Regions from separate parts of the Homo sapiens genome. Here regions 2, 3 and 4 are each linked to region 1. Evidence: promoter capture Hi-C in 16 types of primary human blood cells and fetal thymus (Javierre and others, 2016). All regions are on one chromosome and are shown on one strand. Each heading gives the region's core, a stretch centred on a gene start or on the middle of the fragment in contact. The rest is flanking DNA. Distances are from core to core; before and after follow the strand shown.

The links. Contacts are between HindIII fragments. The CHiCAGO score rates a contact against its expected background, and 5 or more counts as called.
Region 2: a fragment that was not itself captured here is called in contact with the fragment with the promoter of SLC36A4 in region 1 in 8 of 17 cell types (naive B cells, naive CD4 T cells, naive CD8 T cells and 5 more); the score reaches 13.9 in naive B cells.
Region 3: a contact is called between a fragment that was not itself captured here and the fragment with the promoter of SLC36A4 in region 1, in 3 of 17 cell types (total CD8 T cells, total B cells and non-activated CD4 T cells). The highest score is 6.3, in total CD8 T cells.
Region 4: a contact is called between a fragment that was not itself captured here and the fragment with the promoter of SLC36A4 in region 1, in 1 of 17 cell types (fetal thymus). The highest score is 5.1, in fetal thymus.

What each region holds. Positions count from the first base shown.
Region 1 is chr11:93,195,745-93,200,414 of GRCh38, reverse strand. SLC36A4 (solute carrier family 36 member 4) reads left to right here and starts at 2,424. Exons shown (of 11, transcript NM_152313.4): 1 at 2,424-2,637. The coding sequence starts at 2,583. RefSeq lists a silencer at 2,283-2,662. The HindIII fragment of the contact is 1,801 bases long and covers 1,807-3,607 here.
Region 2 is chr11:90,210,338-90,215,007 of GRCh38, reverse strand. It overlaps CHORDC1 (cysteine and histidine rich domain containing 1), which reads left to right. Exons shown (of 11, transcript NM_012124.3): 4 at 833-990; 5 at 3,690-3,793; 6 at 4,414-4,472. Among named protein-coding and RNA genes, the nearest start is that of CHORDC1, 10 kb to the left of the region's middle. The HindIII fragment of the contact is 2,505 bases long and covers 1,108-3,612 here.
Region 3 is chr11:90,226,539-90,231,208 of GRCh38, reverse strand. The region is part of intron 1 of LOC124902812 (a long non-coding RNA gene); the gene reads right to left. Among named protein-coding and RNA genes, the nearest start is that of CHORDC1, 5.8 kb to the right of the region's middle. RefSeq lists an enhancer at 2,663-3,169. The HindIII fragment of the contact is 631 bases long and covers 2,183-2,813 here.
Region 4 is chr11:95,789,927-95,794,596 of GRCh38, reverse strand. CEP57 (centrosomal protein 57) reads right to left here and starts at 4,099. Exons shown (of 11, transcript NM_014679.5): 1 at 3,854-4,099. The coding sequence starts at 3,898. RefSeq lists enhancers at 3,191-3,854, 3,818-4,287. The HindIII fragment of the contact is 581 bases long and covers 3,130-3,710 here.

The DNA.
Region 1 (4,670 bases), core at 1,175-3,674:
AGGTGTCTAAAACAGAACCATTTCTCCATCTGTAAAAGAGGAAAGGCTAGATTCACTGCTGGAAATGCTCTTCCCTCTACACACACCAAGCCAACTCCTTCTTACCTTCATGTGTCAGCTTAAGTGTCTTCAGATAAGACTATCCCACCTTCTCAATCTAAAGTAGGTTCCGTGGTGGTACCCTGTTATTTTCCTAACCAACAATTGTAATGACATATTTAGTATTTTGTTTTGTTCTGTTCTGTCACATGCTATATACTATGAACTCCATGACAGTAGGGACCATACCAACATTATTTGCCCTTCTAGCCCCAGCATCTAGCATACTTCCTGATATATGGAAGGTGCTCCGTAAAATGTGCTTGAATACATTAAAGACTTCTAAATGTTTCCTTTCATATACCTATGAGGCTATATTCAGTAACTTTCAACAACTGTTCATTGAGTGACTGGTATTTGTAAGTCACTGTGCTAGGCCTGTTTGGACAAAGACAAATACAGTTAATTCCTCAACAGGCCTAGCACAGTGCCTTGCACATAATAGTATACAGCATAGTATAAAGCCCAGAAAGAGGAATAATTATAAGTGGAGAAGTGTTGTAACAGAGATACGAACAAAGTGCTGCAGTTGCAAAGAAGGAAGTAGTTAAGATGTGATGCAAGAAGTTAAAGTCAGGAAAAGAAATGAATTTCCAGGGTTCAAATTGTCACATTCTGTATAATGTCTCTATTTTGATACAGCTGTACTTTATATCTGCTTCTAATTTATAAGACCTGGAGTAGAAGTCCTAGTAAATATGTTCTCAAGTAGAGATGCATGAAAAACATATTTCTCTTGAATCTTATGATCATTGTTATCACTTGCTTTATCTCCACATCACTGTAAAGACATTGGGCCTCCTACCTCAGCCCAACCCTCTTCAAAAGATTTCAGGCCTATACTACAAGTCAAACTTTTCTTCCTTCCATATTGCCAGATCTGCTTTCCCTGAAGCTGAGATTAGGGGACAATGACTTTTGATCCCTTTTAACTCTCAAAGGATAATGTTCTTTTAAGATGCTGTCCCACATGTTCTCATTATAATGAGTGGTTTATGGAAAATTACCTTGGTCCTATAATTTCTGTCTGATGCCTATCTTCTCTCCTGCTGATCTTTAACCAGGTGATCCACCCCAACACAGGTTAGGGAACATTGCTCTAGCTATGTTCCAGAATAGATTTCTTCTTCTTCTTCTTTTTTAAAAAAAATCTCCTTTACCCCTTTATTTGTCAGGAACACTTCAAATAAAACCTTCTTTTGGGATTTGCATGTGTATGTATGTGAACAAATTGGGTTCACTTAAAGGAAAAGAAAGGGGGTTGGCAAACTGTCATTATCACTAGTTATCTAGTGAAAGCCTACAGAGGATGCAACAGGAGGAAAGATGTAGATAGTATGTAACTGCGTACCTTTTTAATCTCAGAATTTTAAATATTTAACACCATTGCCATATAGTTACATCAGTGACTGTTAATCAGACCCACTCCCCCCCAAAAAAACCCTTTCCTAAAGCAACCCCACTGAATGAAACGGACACAAATAAAAAGGATTGTCTGGTGTACTGACTTCCAAGAACTATGAAGTGAAAAAAAAAAGAAAGCGATTTTAAAATTAAAATAAATATTTTCCTTTTAAACCAAAAGCTTGCTTCATCCATTGATTCATCGAATATTCATTGGTACCCATCTGGGAGGCCAGCTTTGCATATTTTTCGAGAGCTCCAGCTCTGAAGGCAGAAGGATTCTACTTCTGCCATGTACAAGCTTCCTGTCCCCAGACACGTTACTTACCTCCGTGCCTTAATCCCTTCATCTTTAGCGTTAATGTAAATATTAGAATTATCTCACAAATTGTAGTCAGAATTAAAGATAATGTATGTATGGTGCTTAGGAGTACTTGAAACTACATCAGTACACTTAGTCTTTACCTTAATTTTCTTTCAGCACCACGGTCAACGTCAAATATCTGGAAGGACATTGAAATATCCTGAAAGTGAAATTGTATATGACTTAATTAAATTCTATTTAAGTGTCTCCTGTAACTCTAACTATAGAAACAGGGAGACGAATAACCAGAGTAGTCAGAACCTCAGCATGGGTAGGGGACAAATCCCGTCCTTCTTCGCATTCTCCAAGGTGACTTACAGAACGCTAACGCCTTGCATACGGACAGGCGCCCCAAATTTAAGTTCGCCGTCATCTTTAAAACCCCCAGGGAGCTATGGGCCCGGGTCTCGGCTAGCTCTAAGGTCCCACCCTCGCTGATCTCAGGTTACCCAACCCTCCTCTCGGGTTACCCAACCCGGCCTCGCAGCAGTCCTCGGGTCTTCGGCCCCTCCCGCCCCTCGCCGGCGGTGCCCGCCGAGCCGGGCTGTCCCACTGCGCATGCTCCTCGCCGCGCGGTTGGGGAGCGCCGGGGCAGGGAGGCGGGCACCAGGCGCGGGTCCCTCCGGGCAGGGGAGGTAGGCCTGGGCCTGACGCCGGCCACGCAGCGGCGGGAGAGTGAGCACTCGGGCGGCGGCGTCCTGGAGACCCGCGAGAGATGGAAGCGGCGGCGACGCCGGCGGCTGCCGGGGCGGCGAGGCGCGAGGAGCTAGGTCGGTGTTGTGCGTGGGCAGGGAGCCGGGGCTGACGTGGGCGGGGGTCTGTGCGGGAGTCGGGTGCGCCCACACCTCCAGGGGCCCCGCGCTTGGCCTGAGTTGAGGCCCGATTGCTAACTGACCCCGTGGTCAGCATCCGCAAAGGAACCGGTTATCTGACCCCGAGAACTTGGTCAGACGAAGCCCAGGCCTGAATAGGGCGTTAAAATATGTGTGTGTGTGTTTGCGCGCGCGCGTGTGGGTGAGTGTGTGTGTTGAGTGGGGCGGGGCCCTGTGGGTACACGTCAAAGACGCAAGAGCCTGCGCCGTGACTCACGGTTTTTTTCCCAATGATGCTTTAAGGAAGTTATCATTGTTCTGCTTTTCAAATGCTGCAGCCCCATTCGGAATCTCCAGATGAATCCTCATTTTACTCCTTGTTATCCCAGAGTTTCGAACAGGTCGTGCTGACCAGAATGAACAGGAGATACCTGTAGCTTGCTCACTTGGCAAAGTTTGTTTGTTTTTTGCTGCTTTCCTCCCATCTTGTTTCTTGGCGACAGGGCGTGTTTGTTTACGGTTTCCCGCTGTCCAAAATAAAAAAGTAAGGATCAGGGTGGTAAAATGATCGCTCTCCCAGTTATACGTACTGTACTTGGGAGTATTTTTCATTCGATGCTGATTAAATGTAATTAAAAAATTAAATCTAAATGGAATCTTCAAGAAAACCGTTGAACTTTAAAAAATACCGTATTATAAGTAACTGATAGGTTGTTGTTATTCCTCTAATAGCCTGCAGGGCACTTTGCAATGGAATTGTTTTCAGGCCGTAATAATGGTAGAAACAATAAACTTAACATTTTATTGCGTGCTTACTGTGTGCAAACACTGTGCTAAGTGCTTTACCTATGCATTGTCTTTAATCCTCACAGCAACTGAGATAGGTGCTATCATGATTTCCATTTTATAGATACAGTAATTTTAAGCTTATTAATGGCAGAACCCAAATGTGAACTCAGGTTTCATTCATTAATAACCTGTCTTAGTGAGGATATGGAGAAATGGGTATTCTCATGCATTGCTGGCAGGAAAGGGATAATATATTTAGCCTTAAAAATGTACATATCGGCCTGGCGCGGTGGCTCACGCCTGTAATCCCAGCACTTTGGGAGGCTGAGGCGGCCGGATCATCACAAGGTCAGGAGATGGAGACCATCCTGGCTAACACGGTGAAACCCCGTCTCTACTAAAAACACAAAAAATTAGCCGGGCGTGGTGGCGGGCGCCTGTAGTCCCAGCTACTCGGGTGGCTGAGGCAGGAGAATGGCGTGAACCCGGGAGGCGGAGCTTGCCGTGAGCCGAGATCGTGCCACTGCACTCCAGCCTGGGCAACAGAGCGAGACTCTGTCTCAAAAAAAAAAAGTGCTTATCGTTTGACCCAGCAATTCTCCTTCAGAATATTTCCCGAGGAAATAAGTAATGTAACCCATACTTATATCAAGAGGTTTTCATTATAGTATATAGAGAAAAGCTGTTAACTAAAGTACAATGAAAGGAAATTGGTTAAATTGTGGTATAGTTTTACATTGCCTACCATTAAAAGTGATGTGGAAAGATGTTCAGCATGTACATTTTCTTTAACTGAAAAAAAGTTTCAAATTATTTCAGTTTTTTTAAGTTTTATATTTTCATTAATTCAACACATATTCATTGAGCTTCCCCTAGGCACTTGAGATACATCGTGAGCAAAACAGATAAAAATTCCTGTTCTTAATGGAGCTTGTATTTAGTAATGGGAAGCAGAGAGTAAGCAGTAAAGACAATAACCAGTTAATTATATAGTATGTTAGGTGAAAAGTGCTATGGAAAACAAGAGCAGGGTAAGGGAAATCAGGAATGAGGGTGGGGGCTAGGCAGTTTACAGTATTTTATAAAATGGTTGGGATGGGCCTTATTGAAAAGGTACAATTTGAGTAAAGACCTGGAAGAGGTAAGGAAATTAGCCAAATGGATATCTGGGGAACGACTACTCCAGGCAGAAAGAATAACTA
Region 2 (4,670 bases), core at 1,111-3,610, 3.0 Mb after region 1:
AGAATCTGTTTTGGAAATTAACGTTTTAAGGTATCAGTTACCTGCTTATCATTTTAGGTTTGTTCTTTCTGTTATGTTGAAAGAACATCAAGGAGAAAGTGGTAAGCAACAATTTAAAGCCTTTTCAGTTAGGAACGATAAAGTTTTATCTAAGATGCTGTTGAAATATTTTACATACCACTTTTATATAAAACCACTTTATATACCACTAAGAAAACTAAAGCTACTAACAAACTGATAATGCTATTGATTGTATCATTTCAGAGGTGTTAAAGAGTATGTATAATTCAGTAGAATGTAGTAGAAAAGTAGCTAACGTTTGTTGAATGTTATCACCTGCCAAATGTGCCAGGCATTTTATTATTTAACTCTCTCAGAAAATATCTTACCTGACATTACCTCCATTTTACAAATGAGGAGATGGAGGTTTAAAAAGATTATCTTGCTTAAGGTCATATAACTAATAAGTATGTTGAGAACTAGGTCTCAAATTGAGGCCTTTCGAGTAACAGATTTTTCTGTATAACTATTTTTTACAGTTCTTTGTGAGATTCTCCAGAATTCTTCTGTAAACAAGAGGTTTATGCCATATTTTTAATAGAATAAGTAGATGTTTATGAAGTGTAATTCAAAGACTTTTTAAAAAAGCCGTCATTCAGAGATTCAGCAAATATGGCAAATTTGGAGTTCTGTTTTTAATTTCTTAAAATCAATGTATTGAAACTGGAGAAAACATGAAATAGAATCACTATCAATAAAGAACTGAAAAGATAATATTTCTATCATGAAATGTAAAATAGATAGCTCTTAATGAATTATCTTTCACTAACAGGGCTGTACAAAAGGTAGACATAATAGTGAGAAGCCACCTGAGCCAGTCAAACCTGAAGTCAAGACTACTGAGAAGAAGGAGCTATGTGAATTAAAACCCAAATTTCAGGAACACATCATTCAAGCCCCTAAGCCAGTAGAAGCAATAAAAAGACCAAGGTATACTTTATACAGTTACATATTTTTGTCACACTTGAATAGTAGCACTTGTGCATGGTACTTTCCTTTATGATTTAGCATGATACCATTTGTAGCTACTATGTAGGCCACCAAGCTTTGAACCATTTGGTTTCTCCCTTAAATCTGCCTTAAATTTTTATTTCTCTTCAACTTGAGAGCATGTACACAATATAACTACATAACAGATTTGCATATTGTACTGTCATAATTACAGGGACATGTATCATCAGGGTAGGGAAGTCACATTTTTCTTGTGCCTTAGAGTGCATCTTTTTCACTGTGGCATGGTAAAATTCTTTGAAGCAGTTTTCCTTTTCATGGCATGAGTTTGAAGTAGAAAATAATGCAGAGGCCTAATCATCCATCTTTACTTTCAGATGCCTGAAAACTACCGTTAATCTCATTACTACTGGTCAATTTTTAATGCATTTGATTTAGATGACATATTTGTGAAAGTAGTCTTAAAAAAGCGTTTGCTCATTGTGCAATAGAGTTGTACAGATTCTTCATACTTGCCTTCTGATAACCAGACTCTGTATTCCCACACATGTATATTGAGTACCTTTGTTGAACCAGGTCTTCTTCGTGCTACACTTGAGTACTAAATTGTTTTAGAAGCAAACTACAGGACTTAAAAAAAGGTGATTTTTTTTTTTTTTTTTGGCTGCAAGTAGGCACTTATTGTAATTTTTATTCATGCTATGAACTCATGATTTTCCCTTTATTCTCCTTTGATCCTACTTAAATAAATTTATAGAGTATTGAATAATATAGAACCAAGATAAGAACCCTAAGAGACTTTAGATGTTTATTTGTTCATTAGCACTCTGAGTACAGATTATTGCTAAGGAAACTACTCAGGATGATTTTATTCTCTCTCCATCTTCATAGTTAGAGGAGACCATTGAATGCTTTGGCCAGTTTAGCAGTTAGAAAAATAATTGGGAAAAGACAAAACTTCAGTCATGGCTCATTCTTAATCTCTTTAGTAATATAATACAGTCTGTACTATAATAGTATGAGTTAATTTTTTCTTTAAATGATGGGCTGTTATTTTACTTAAAGGGCAGTGAGAGGCCAGGCACTGTGGCTCAAGCCCATAATCCAGCACTTTGAGAAGCCTAGGAGGGAGGATCCTTTGAGCCTAGGAGTTTGAGAACCAATCTGAAAGAGATCCTGTCTCTCCAAAAAAAATAAATTAGCTGGGTTTGGTGGTGTGCTCATGTAGTTGCAGCTACTCAGGCTGAGGCAGGAGGATCTTGAGATTGACTTTTTGAAAAAAAAGGACAAAGGCAGTGAGATGAGAAAAACTAAATATTTTATCCTAAATTCATTTGGTGGTATTATAACAATTATGAGGATATCAGTTTTTACATACTTTTCTTTTTTTTAAGAAGAAAAGTCCCTCTCTTACCCAGGCTGTAATGCAGTGGCATTATAGCTCACTGCAGCCTTTAACTCCTGGGCTCAAGCCATCCTCCTCCCTAACCCTCCCCGGAACTATAGGTGTATGCTACTATGACTGTATTAGTCCATTTTCACAGTTACGAAGAAACACCCGAGACTAAGTGATTTATAAAGAAAAAGAGGTTTAATGAACTCACAGTTCCATATGGCTGGGGAGGCCTCACAATCATGGCAGAAGGTAGAGCGAGTAATAAAGGAATGTTTTACATGGTGGCAGGCAAGAAAAAAACCATCAGAACTTCTGAGACTTATTCACTATCATGAGAACAGCATGGGAAAAAGGCATCCCCATGATCCAGTTACCTCCCACTAGGTCTGTCACACACCATGTGGAGATTAGGGGAGCTAGAATTCAAGATGAGATTTGGTTGGTGACACAGGGAAACCATATCAGTGACCGACTAATATTTTTTATTATTTTGCGGAGACAGGGTTCCACTTTGTTGCCCAGGCTTCAAGCAGTCCTCTTGCCTCAGCCTCCCAAAGTGTTGGGATTATGGGCATAAGCGACCATGCCTTGCCTATGTACTTTTAAAATGCCTCTTTTGTCAGTTTTTTCATCGAGGATATAGAATGAATAGCCTACGATTTTTATTTTTATTGCTGTGTTTATTAATATGTTTAATACTTATTTATTGAGTGGACTTAAATTATGTATACAACACTTAGCCATTATGAAATGTTAGAAGATGTTGTTTTTTAAACCCTACTGAAATTGCCTTGCAATACGATCGTATCTGAATTTACAGATCCATATGCCAGTGTCCACATAAATTATCTCCACTGGTAGAAGTGAGTATGGATTCACTTAGAACTTACTTATATTTCATGTTTATTATGTGCTCAGCATTGAGCTTGGGCATGGGATGTAAAAGTACATTATGGTCCCTTCCTCAGCATTACTCATCTTGAAAACCTTGGATTCCTAGTCTTTATTCCTTTCTCGTTAGTGCAACTGATTAATACTTAAATATGCTGACAATAGCGTGATTATTTGAGACTTACTATTCTAATATAAGGAGCTTTTCTGTTAAGACAGAATGTAGATACATTGTAACAATTATTTATAAAATACCTTTTAACCTTTTAATGGGAATCATTTGATACACAAAGCATTTGGCTTCTCAGAAAGCTTTTAAGGTTATTAATTTGGAGTACAAAGAAATATTTTGGTATATTAATAATGGTAATAAGGTTTCAAAATTCTCCAGCCCAGATGAACCAATGACAAATTTGGAATTAAAAATATCTGCCTCCCTAAAACAAGCACTTGATAAACTTAAACTGTCATCAGGGAATGAAGAAAATAAGAAAGGTAAGATTTTATTTTGTTTTATTGTTAATTATTTTCTGGTACAGTTAAGCAGTTATCCAAAAGAGAGAATAGTAGTTTACTGCATATAAATAGGGAAAAGTCGCACATTGTAGTTAAGAAACTTTTTCTTCTAAATGTCAGATATGATAAACTACAAATACTTCAGAACCTAATAGGTTAATTCCATATGTCTTTATTCAAAACGAGAACCTATATTAAATTTTTTTTCTTTTATGGTTCATTATTTTTTTAAGAATCAGCTAAATTTCTTTGATATTTTAAAATGTTTTCTTGTACATTATACAAAATATATTCACTATTCTCTGACTTTATACCTGGTACCATGGGAGGAAAACACCCTTTCATGATTTATTTTACAAAGTTAAGATACTGGATATAACATTTTGTTATGGAAAAAATTGTGTCCTGCATTGTTGAAGACACCAGGTCCTCAAAAGAAGAAGAAATGTGTCATATATCAATTTGGGGATATAAGCAAATCCTAGTCACAGTCGTTTTCTAAAAAGTATTGTTTTCTGGAAAAACCTAGTTTTTAAGAATGATGCCACAGCGAAGTTCTATTTTAACTTTTTAATTTGATTTTTTTTTCTTTGTTACAGAAGAAGACAATGATGAAATTAAGATTGGGACCTCATGTAAGAATGGAGGGTGTTCAAAGGTATATATCACAAGATTTGTGATGTGTTATGAAGTAAAATTTTAATTTTGAGGAAAGTGCAGTTTGCTGACTCAATTCAACAAACATTTGCATGCATATTATATATTGAACATTATGCTGGGGACTAGGGCTACAATCATGGATAAGAGACTCTGAGTAGCATCATGTCCAGTAGAATAATGAAAATAAGTAATTCCA
Region 3 (4,670 bases), core at 1,249-3,748, 3.0 Mb after region 1:
GTTTTGGAAGTATAATTTTGCAAAATAGACTAGTTGATGATCTTATTCTTTTATGACTTTGACTGTGTCATCCTATTTCTGTTTGGACTACAGTGTTTTGGAAATGAAATCATGTGTTAATCTTACAGAGAATCCCTTATATGTGGAGACCCATTTTTCTCTTACTGCTTTCAAAATTCTCTCAGTATTTTTGGCTTTTGACAATTTTATTATTTTGTATATGTTCATCTCTTTGAGTTTGTCTTACTGGGGGTTCCTAAATTTTTCAGATGTGTACATTAATGTTTTAACTACATTTGAGAAGTTTTTAGTTATTATACCTTCAAGTACTGTTTCTTCCCCTTTTCCCATATTCTCTTCTTCTGTGACTCTAATATGTGTATGCTGGTAAGCATGATACTGTTCAATTAGTCTCTGAGACTTTATGTATCTTTATTTATTCAGTTTTTTTCCTGTTCCTTAGACTAGATGATGTAAACTGACCTATATTCAAATTCTCTTTTTCTACCAGGACTAATCTTCTATTGAATCCTTATAGTAAATTTTTAGTTATTATACTTTTCAATTTGAGAATTTTTACTTTTTATTTCTTCATTAGTAATATTTGCTGAGACATCAGTCTCTTTGTTTTTTAGAATTAGTTTCTTCTATTTCTTTGAACATATTTATAATAATTGATTTAAAGTCTTTACCTATTACGTCCAATATCTACCTCAGGGACAGTTTATATTGCATGCTTTTTTTTCTTCCTGTATATGAGCCATTCTTCTTATTTACAAGACATAATTTTTTATTGAAAACTGGATATTTTATATAATATAATGTGACAACTCTAGAAATCAGATTATCTCCTCCCAGCCTTTCTTTTGATTGCCATTTATTGTTGTTGTTGTTGTTGTTATTATTTATCTCCTGGACTAATTCTGTAAACTCTTTATTCCCTGTTATTTGTGGCCACTGAGTCCTCTGTACAGTTAGCTTTGTAGTTAAGCTCGTGATTGGACAGAGATTTCCTTATATACCCTGAGTGAATAAGCTGTATATTATTTGTTGAGAGGCTCTTTGTATGTATTGACAGGCTCTCAATGTTTTGATAGTTTACAATTCTGCATTAGTCTTCCCTTCCTGCTTCAAAGGACCTAAAGTTCAAGTAGAGATGAGAGGATGGAACTTTCTCAGATCATTCTTTTACATGGACACAGCCCTACTCATGGATGTGGCTTTCTTCACATTCCTTAGGAATATGTCAGTGTTGTTCAAAGATTCTGGTGTTATCTCACTCATAAACTCTTCCATTTACATTTTTATTGGCCAGCTTCTTATTGGCCTCAACTCGTATAGTCTCCTCAGGCAGCTGCCATGTTAAACAATCACTTTTGATTGTTTTCAGCAAATGTCCTAGAAACAAGATTTTTCCCAATCAACAAGCTTTCAGTAAGTCAAAACGATCACAAGCCTTAAAAATTGAGCTTTTCCAAGGAGCTGTCAGATGGGTCAATGCTTAGACAATGCCATTCTGCCTCCTCTTGTAGCTTCTAGAATTCCACTTTACATACCTATTGTTGAGAGGCTGCTGGATTTTATACCTACCATTTAGGTATAAAGAAGAGAATGGAAATAGGGAAATTAAAATGTCACACAATTTGTTGTTCTTACCAATATTTAGCACTTTTGTTGAATAAGGGCTCTTTGGATTATTGCATGCCTTCAGTTAATTTTGAGATTTCTGGAAAAATCACATTAATGGAAAACTCCTTTCAATTATTCCTCTTTGCCCTAAGGATAAAAGCCTTTTAATCATCCTTACAGCTGCCTCTCAGGCTGCCTGTGTTGTTGGGCCTCTGTCTACCTTTCCAGCCTCAGATGGTGTTATAGTTTAGATATTCGCCCCCATCCAAATCTCATGTTGAAATATAATCCCCAGTCTTGAAGGTGAGGCCTGGTGGGAGGTGTTTGGATTATGGGAGTCCATCCTTCATGAATGGCTTGGGCCATTCCCTTGGTGATAGGTGAGCTCTTGCTCTGAGATCTGGTGGTCATTTAAAAGTCTGTGGAACCTCCCCTCCCCAACTCTCTCTCTCTTTCCCTGCTTTTGCCATGTGAAGTGCAAGCTCCTGCTTTGCCTTCTACCATGAGTAAAACTTCCTGAAGCCTCACCAGAAATTACGCTTCCTGTAAAGCTTGCAGAACCATAAGCAAATTAAATCTTTTCTTATAAATTACCTAGTCTCAGGCATTTCTTTATAGTAATGCAAAAATGACCTAATACAGAAAATTAGTACTCAGAGTGGAGTATTACTATAAAGATACCTGAAAATGTAGAAACAGCTTGGAAATTGGATAATGGCCAGAGGTTAGGATCACGTGGAGTATGTCTTTCTAGAGAAGACAGGAAGATGAGAGTAAGTGTGCAACTTCTTAGAGACTGCTTAAATGATTGTGACCAAAATGCTGATAGTGATATGGAAAATGAAATCCAGGCTGACTAGATCTGAGATGAAAACGAGGAACTTATTGGGAACTGGAGCAAAGGTCACACATGTTATGCCATAGGAAAGAGTTTGGCTGCATTCTGTTCATGCCCTGGGTATCTGAGGAAATCTGAACTTGAGAGTGATAACCTAGGGTATTTAACAGAAGAAATTTCTAAGCAGCAAAGTGCCCAAGATGTGGCCTGGCTGTTTCTAACAACCTTTGCTTAGATACAGAAGCAAGGAAATGGCTTAAAGTAGAAATTTATATTTAAACAGGAAACAGAGCATAAAAGTTTGGAAATTTTGCAGCCTAGCCATATGGCAGAGAAAGAAAAAGCTTTTTTGTAGAGAGGAATTCAAGCAGGCTGTGGAGCAACCACCTGCTAGATACATTGGCATAACTAAAAGGGAGCCAAGTGCTACTATTCAAGACAATGGGGAAAACAACTTGAAGTCATTTCAGCGAACTTCATGGCAGCCCCTCCCATCAGAGGCCTTAGGAGGGAAGAATGGTTTCATGGGCCGAGCCCTTGGCAAACTACTCTCCCCACATCCCAGCCACTCCAGTTCCAGCTATGGCTCAACAGGGTCCAGGTACAGCTCGGGCTGCCACTTTGAAGGATGCAAGCCATAAGCTTACATGGCTTACATGAGATGTTAAGCCTGTGGATGTACAGAGTGCCAGAGCTGAGGTTTGGAAGCTTCTGTGAGGGTTTCAGAGGATGCATGAAAAAGCCTGGATGTATAGGCAGAAGCCTGCTGCAGGGGCAGAACCCTCACAGACAACTTCTACTAGGGCAATGTGGAGGGGAAAATATGGGGCTGGAGCCTCCACACAAAGTCTCTAATGAGCACTGGCTAGTAGAACTGTGAGAAGAGGGCCACCATCCTTCAGACCTGAGAATGGTAGATCTATTAGCAGCTTGTACTCTGTACCTGGAAAATCCACAGGCACTCAATCCCAGCCCATGAGAGCAGTTGGGGGAGTTGTACTCTGCAAAGGTATAGGGGTAGGGCTGCCCAAGGCCTTGGGAGCCCTCTCCTTGCACCAGTGTGCCCTGGATGTGGAACATAGAGTCAAAGGGGATTACATTGGAGCTTTAAGATTTAATGACGGCCTGCTTGGGTTTTGCCTTGCATGGAGCCTATAGCCCCTTTCTTTTAGCCAATTTCTCCCTTTTGGAATGGGAATGTTTACCCAATGCCTATACATACCTATTGTATCTTGGAAGTAACTAACTTGTTTATTTTACAGGCTCATAGGTGGAAGGGATTTGTCTTGTCTCAGATGAAACTTTGGACTTTTGAGTTAAATCTGGCAAAGGTCAAGATTTTAGGGGATTGCTGAGAAAGTATGATTCTATTTTGCAATGTGAGGACATGAGATTTGGGAGGGGCCAGGAGAAGAATTATATAGTTTGGATAGTTTTCCCTGCCCAAATCTCATGTTGAAATGTAATCCCCAATCTTGGAGATGGGGCCTGGTGGGAGGTATTTGGGTCATGGGGGCGCATCTCTCATGAATGGCTTGGGCCATCCCCTGGGTGATGAGTGAGTTCTCCAGTTGAGTTCACATGAGATCTGATCATTTAAAAGTGTGTGGCACCTCCCCCACCACTTGCTCCTGCATTTACCATGTGAAGTACAAGCTCTCATTTTGCCTTCTGCCATGAGTTAAAGCTTCCTGAGCCCTTCCTGTATAGCCTGCAGAAATGTGAGCCAATTAAACCCTCTTTTCTTATAAATTATCCAGTCTTGGGTATTTCTTCATAGCAATGCAAGAATGTCCTAATACATCTGGTATCCCTTATTTCTGAGCATTGGTTTACCTCGATGATTCTGTGCTTTCTTTAATGTTATACTACCTTCCATTGCAGGACTTCTGTTTAGACTAACACCTATGCCTGCACTCCAACTCAAGATTAGGCAAATTCCCATCTCCACTAACTTAGCATAACGTACTTCCCATTCATAGCATTTATGGCAATTATCAGTGATTGAATTCATAATTGGGAATATTTGATTCACATCCGTCTTTCTTATAAAATTCAAATACAACGAAGACAGGTAAAATGTCACTTCAGTTCACCACTGTATCCTGCATCTAATGTACCAACACACATTAACTACTTAATACATGCTGAAATAAATTAAAACCTATATATATATTTTTTTTTTAAATCGTGGACAAAATAA
Region 4 (4,670 bases), core at 2,171-4,670, 2.6 Mb before region 1:
TTCACAGAAGAACACACACACACACACTAGTAAAGGTTTGAAAAAAACAGGGTGCATACTCACCAATGATAAGAGGTGCACAAATCAGAAAATAGGATACCATTTCACACACACAGCAAAAATTTACAAGTGGGACGATACCATCCATTTAAGAGGACATAAAATAAAGAGGGTTGTTGGTATAATCACTTGGTAAAACAATTTAGTATGACCGAGTAAAGCTGAAGACGCACATACTCTGTGAACCAGATAATTCATTCAGTTATATTTGCTGAACGATTTTCTCTCTCTTCTTTCTTGAAAATGATACGGGTTGAGTCACAGTACATATTCCATGACCCACTACTGAGCTGTAATCCAGAGCCCAGCCTCTGGTCTGGAAAAAAAAAAGAAAAATCACTGCCCTAGAGTTGCCCCTTGCAAACTTTTTCTCTCAGGACCCCTTTACACTCTAAAAGATCTAGTGAAAAGAATGGCACTATTTTACATTTCTGCAGATCTCTTTAATGTTTGCTTTAAAAAAAGAATGCTGGATTCTCTTATCTAGTTCTGCATTCGCTCTGTTGGATATGTTATTTTGTTTGACTTATTAAAGATCTAGTCTACCACAAACGTGGTCATTACAGAAGGATCTTGTAGACTCTGAGAGGGTCTTGGAGATCTCCAAGGGTTGTGAGACCATACTTCGAGAACTGCACTCTAGAGAAACATTTGCCATGTACAGCATATAACAATGAATACAAGATTGTTTCTAATATCTGGCAAACAAATGAACAGCAAAACCCATTAAATCCAAAGCCCATTAAGATACTGTCATTTACTAGCTAGAGAACTTTGACTCAACCTCTCTGTGCCTCATTTTGCTCATTTGAAAAAGGAAATATTAATGCCAATCTCAGAAGGTTATTGTGAGGATTAAATGAGTTAATGCATGAAAAGGGTCTTTAAGGATTATGCCTTGCCAGGTAGTCCTATATAAATACCATACATTATAATCTTAAAATACGTGGTAGTGGGTGGGTGTGGGAAGGAGAAAGAAGACACAGAGGAACATGAAGGTATTCATTTTATTATTCTCAAAAAGTAAATCTTATATTTAATATTATAAAATGTATGATAGCCATAAAACATTTTTAAGGGAAATTAATATGGAGCTACTGTGCAGCTTGGTCGAAGGACCAAAAGTCAGAGGGACAAATCAAGAGATTAGGTCATTAATCACCAAGGTTATTGTGAAAATATTACAAGGCTGACATGAAAGACATTCTTGTGTATTTCAACACAATGCTGCCCATACCTCCATATGGAATTAATTTCATTATGCCCAATCATAGTTGCTTTCCTGCCTTTTCCACCAGTCGAAGTTTATCAATTCCAGAGCAATCACTCAATAAACGTTACCTAGAACCTAACTGAAACCTATCGCCCTACTTCCATGCTGTTCACATTTGAGATTTACATGGTCACTGCTTCCCAAAGACGGTTATTTATGAATCTACTTGTTAAAAATCTTTGCCTGTAAAGCATCTCAATGTACTTATAACTAGCTCCGTATGAGTTTATCAATGTCGAAAACAGTTGAATATAACAGTTGTTAATCTTCATAACCGTGAAATCTGAATACGAGTTGTGTTCTCAGTTCATGGTATAGTTTTAACAAGTTTTTTTTTTTTTAAATGTTGCCTACTGTTAAGATCAGCTGTTTGATAAGCTAAGTGCTTTTCCAACGCTGTTGGAAATGGCAGCCTTATTTCTGATGGGACATCTAAGCAGGACGTTTTCTTACGCACCAAGAAACCAACTAAATTTAGTCATTTTTGTTTTGAGAAACAGTAACTTCCAAAATAGACATTTTGATGTAGCAGATTGAGTTATGGTTGTTATACTTTGATTTGTGGAGGTTCCTAGATATTCTTAGTGTACCCTTGATATTTAGAATCCTATTAAAGCTGAGCTTAGCACAAAAAAAATATGCTTTCCTAATGAACAGTCTTTGGTATTTCTGTCAAGGGTACCGTATAAGTATTAACAGCTGACTATATCCCAGTGCCAATGCTCACCTAGGTGTCCTTGGCATAGTGCAGCTCAATTAAACGTTTATTTAATATTTTATTTTATGGAGACAGGGTCGCTCTGTCGCCCAGGCTGGAGAGCAGTGGCACTATCATACCTCACTTCAGCCTCAGTGATCCTCCCGCCTCAGCCTCACTAGTAGCTGGTATTACAGGCATGAGCCACGCACCCAGACTCAATTCAACATTTGTAAGAGTATTCCTTGTTCGGTCTCCAAGTGCTTAACTTTTGAGAGCCGTGAAAAGCCCTCTTCTCCCAAGTTTAATCACATCTCCTATAAAATCTCATCCATCTGCTGACACTTCCAATAGTTTTTTACTTTTTTCTTTTACTGACCTAATCCTGAATAACCTTAAATTGCTGCTTTCCTTACTTCTCCTTAACTTCCCCAGACCTCTCTGCAAACTTCTAATTCCCATTCGGCTGAAACACTGTAATACTTCTAGTCCCATTATTACAAATTCTAACAAGTCTCCAAAAGCTGAAACTGACTTCTCCAAGGTGACCAGGCTTTCTTAGCGTTTCCAACTCTTTCCCCCTAGATCCTAGAAAATAACTTTACCCTGATACTCTTCTAGTTCCTTCCCTCACCATCCTTCTTTTTTCACGTTTTTACCTACGTTTCCAATTCACCTCATCCAGCTCTACCTCCGTATTACTTCTTCTCATTCCGAACTATCTCAAGTTTCCTAAAAGCACCTACTGTTCTAGCACATACTCCAAAATTCCCGCACTGCCTTTTTCTCCTTTCTCTACTCTTGGGACAAGCAATCACAATTCCTTCGACACGCAACTAGCTCCATCTTCCCTTCTAGGAAACCTTCTCTAGCCTACCCAAGCACTGTTAATCACTCCCCTCTAGATTATTCTACTACGGTAGCACTTCCTAAACTATACTGCGCAGTAATCACTAATTACGTGTAGTTTCTCTTCAGTGTTTTTCTCCTTCAAAGCAGGGTTTCTATTCTGTTCATTTGGACCCTAACAGTATACCAGGCATCGAACATTTGCTAACTGGAGAAATAAGAGCTCCAACATTTACTTCCTATCAAAGCTTTCCAATGCCGCGGTTTTCAAAAACCTAAGCATTCGACACTCCAATTTGAGAAATACCAGTGAATACCAGTAACTAAACTGGATGGTGACATTTGATGAGGCGAAAACAATATTTAAAATCAATTCCCCCTGTCGCCTCTCCAAAAGGGCATTTCCACATTGAAGTTCCAGTAATTCTAGGTGACAGGAAGCGCGCGTTCTGGCTACGAGCATCACACAACGAAGTTAATGTGGATGGGAGTGGGAGGCACTGCAGGGATAGGAAACAGCATAAGCAACGACTAGTAAGCGCTCGAGAGACGGCGGACTACTATTCTGCAACGTCTCTTAAACACACTGGCGCGCCTCACCTGATCTGGCGAGTTTCCTAGAGGGGCCGCTGAACCCACGTGACCAAAAGAGCTACATTTTTGCAGGCCAGGGAGTGGGCAGTTATCCCAGCCGGCCCTTGGGAATGTTAGGCAACCGGGGTTGGTTGCTACGCCAAAAGGTGAATAAGGGCTGGGGAACAGGGGCGGCCAGCCCAGTTTCACTGGGAGCCAGAGGGTGCAGCTTCGACACAGCCACAGTGAATGGAAGCTTGGGGAGCGCGGGGCAATCTAGGCATTCCCGCCGACCTCCAGAATTGCGTCAGAAGCTGGACTGACAGCGCCCTGAAACGTGAGGAAACTCAAAGAGGCGCTTAGGGCCGACGTGGGGCCCACTCGCGCCAACTGCTTCTTACCGACAAGTGAGAACCAGAAGCCGCAGAGACAGACGCCGCCGCCATCTTTCAGCCTGCCCAGGGGGTCTCCGCACTTCGGGGGCGGTCTAGGTTCTCGTGCTCTTCTCCAAGACTCGGGAGCCGCCCACCAGCGGGGACCCTAGGCTGAACCCCTGATGGAAAAGGGCAAGGGTGCTGGTGCTGGGCTTGGAAACCCCTGCAACACACCCCCTCAGGGCCGCCTACGCTCACAGCTTACACAGAAAGGGCAACACGTCCTAACGGACGTCTTTCCTAGCCAATCAAAACAGCAGACGTCTTTCTGTAGTAGGAGAGAATCCGCCTCTTCCCTGGTGACGTCACAAGGTAGCGCGTAACGGGGCCCGCTGGGGCAGACAACGCCGGGGTTACAGGCCGGCTCTGCGGGGATTCTACGGAGGGTCGGGCCTCCTCCAGTAAGAAGCGTGGGCGAGTAGTGGTGTCGCCAGTGGCAACTGAAGGGAGTAATGGAGATAAAACAAAAGCGAAGGCGAAGTTAAAGCACTCCACGAGTTCCCTCGGATTAAACGCCGGAGAGAGCGTGAATTTGCCTCGGGGACGCCTCTCCAGGTGAAGTATTTACCTTTTGGCCAATAACAAATAGGATTAGGAGGGACTTAACGATTTAGTCCAATAGAAAGCAAGGGAAAAAAAGTTGCGGCAGAGAACGAGCCTTTCGCGAACATTTGCTCAATTGGATTGGGGCGCTCTCAGCCAAACCTGGGACTGGCTGTTAGAAATAGCCGCGACCGCAGACCTTTGGGCGGGGCAGGTTCAAAGCGGATTTCGCGCGCTGAGA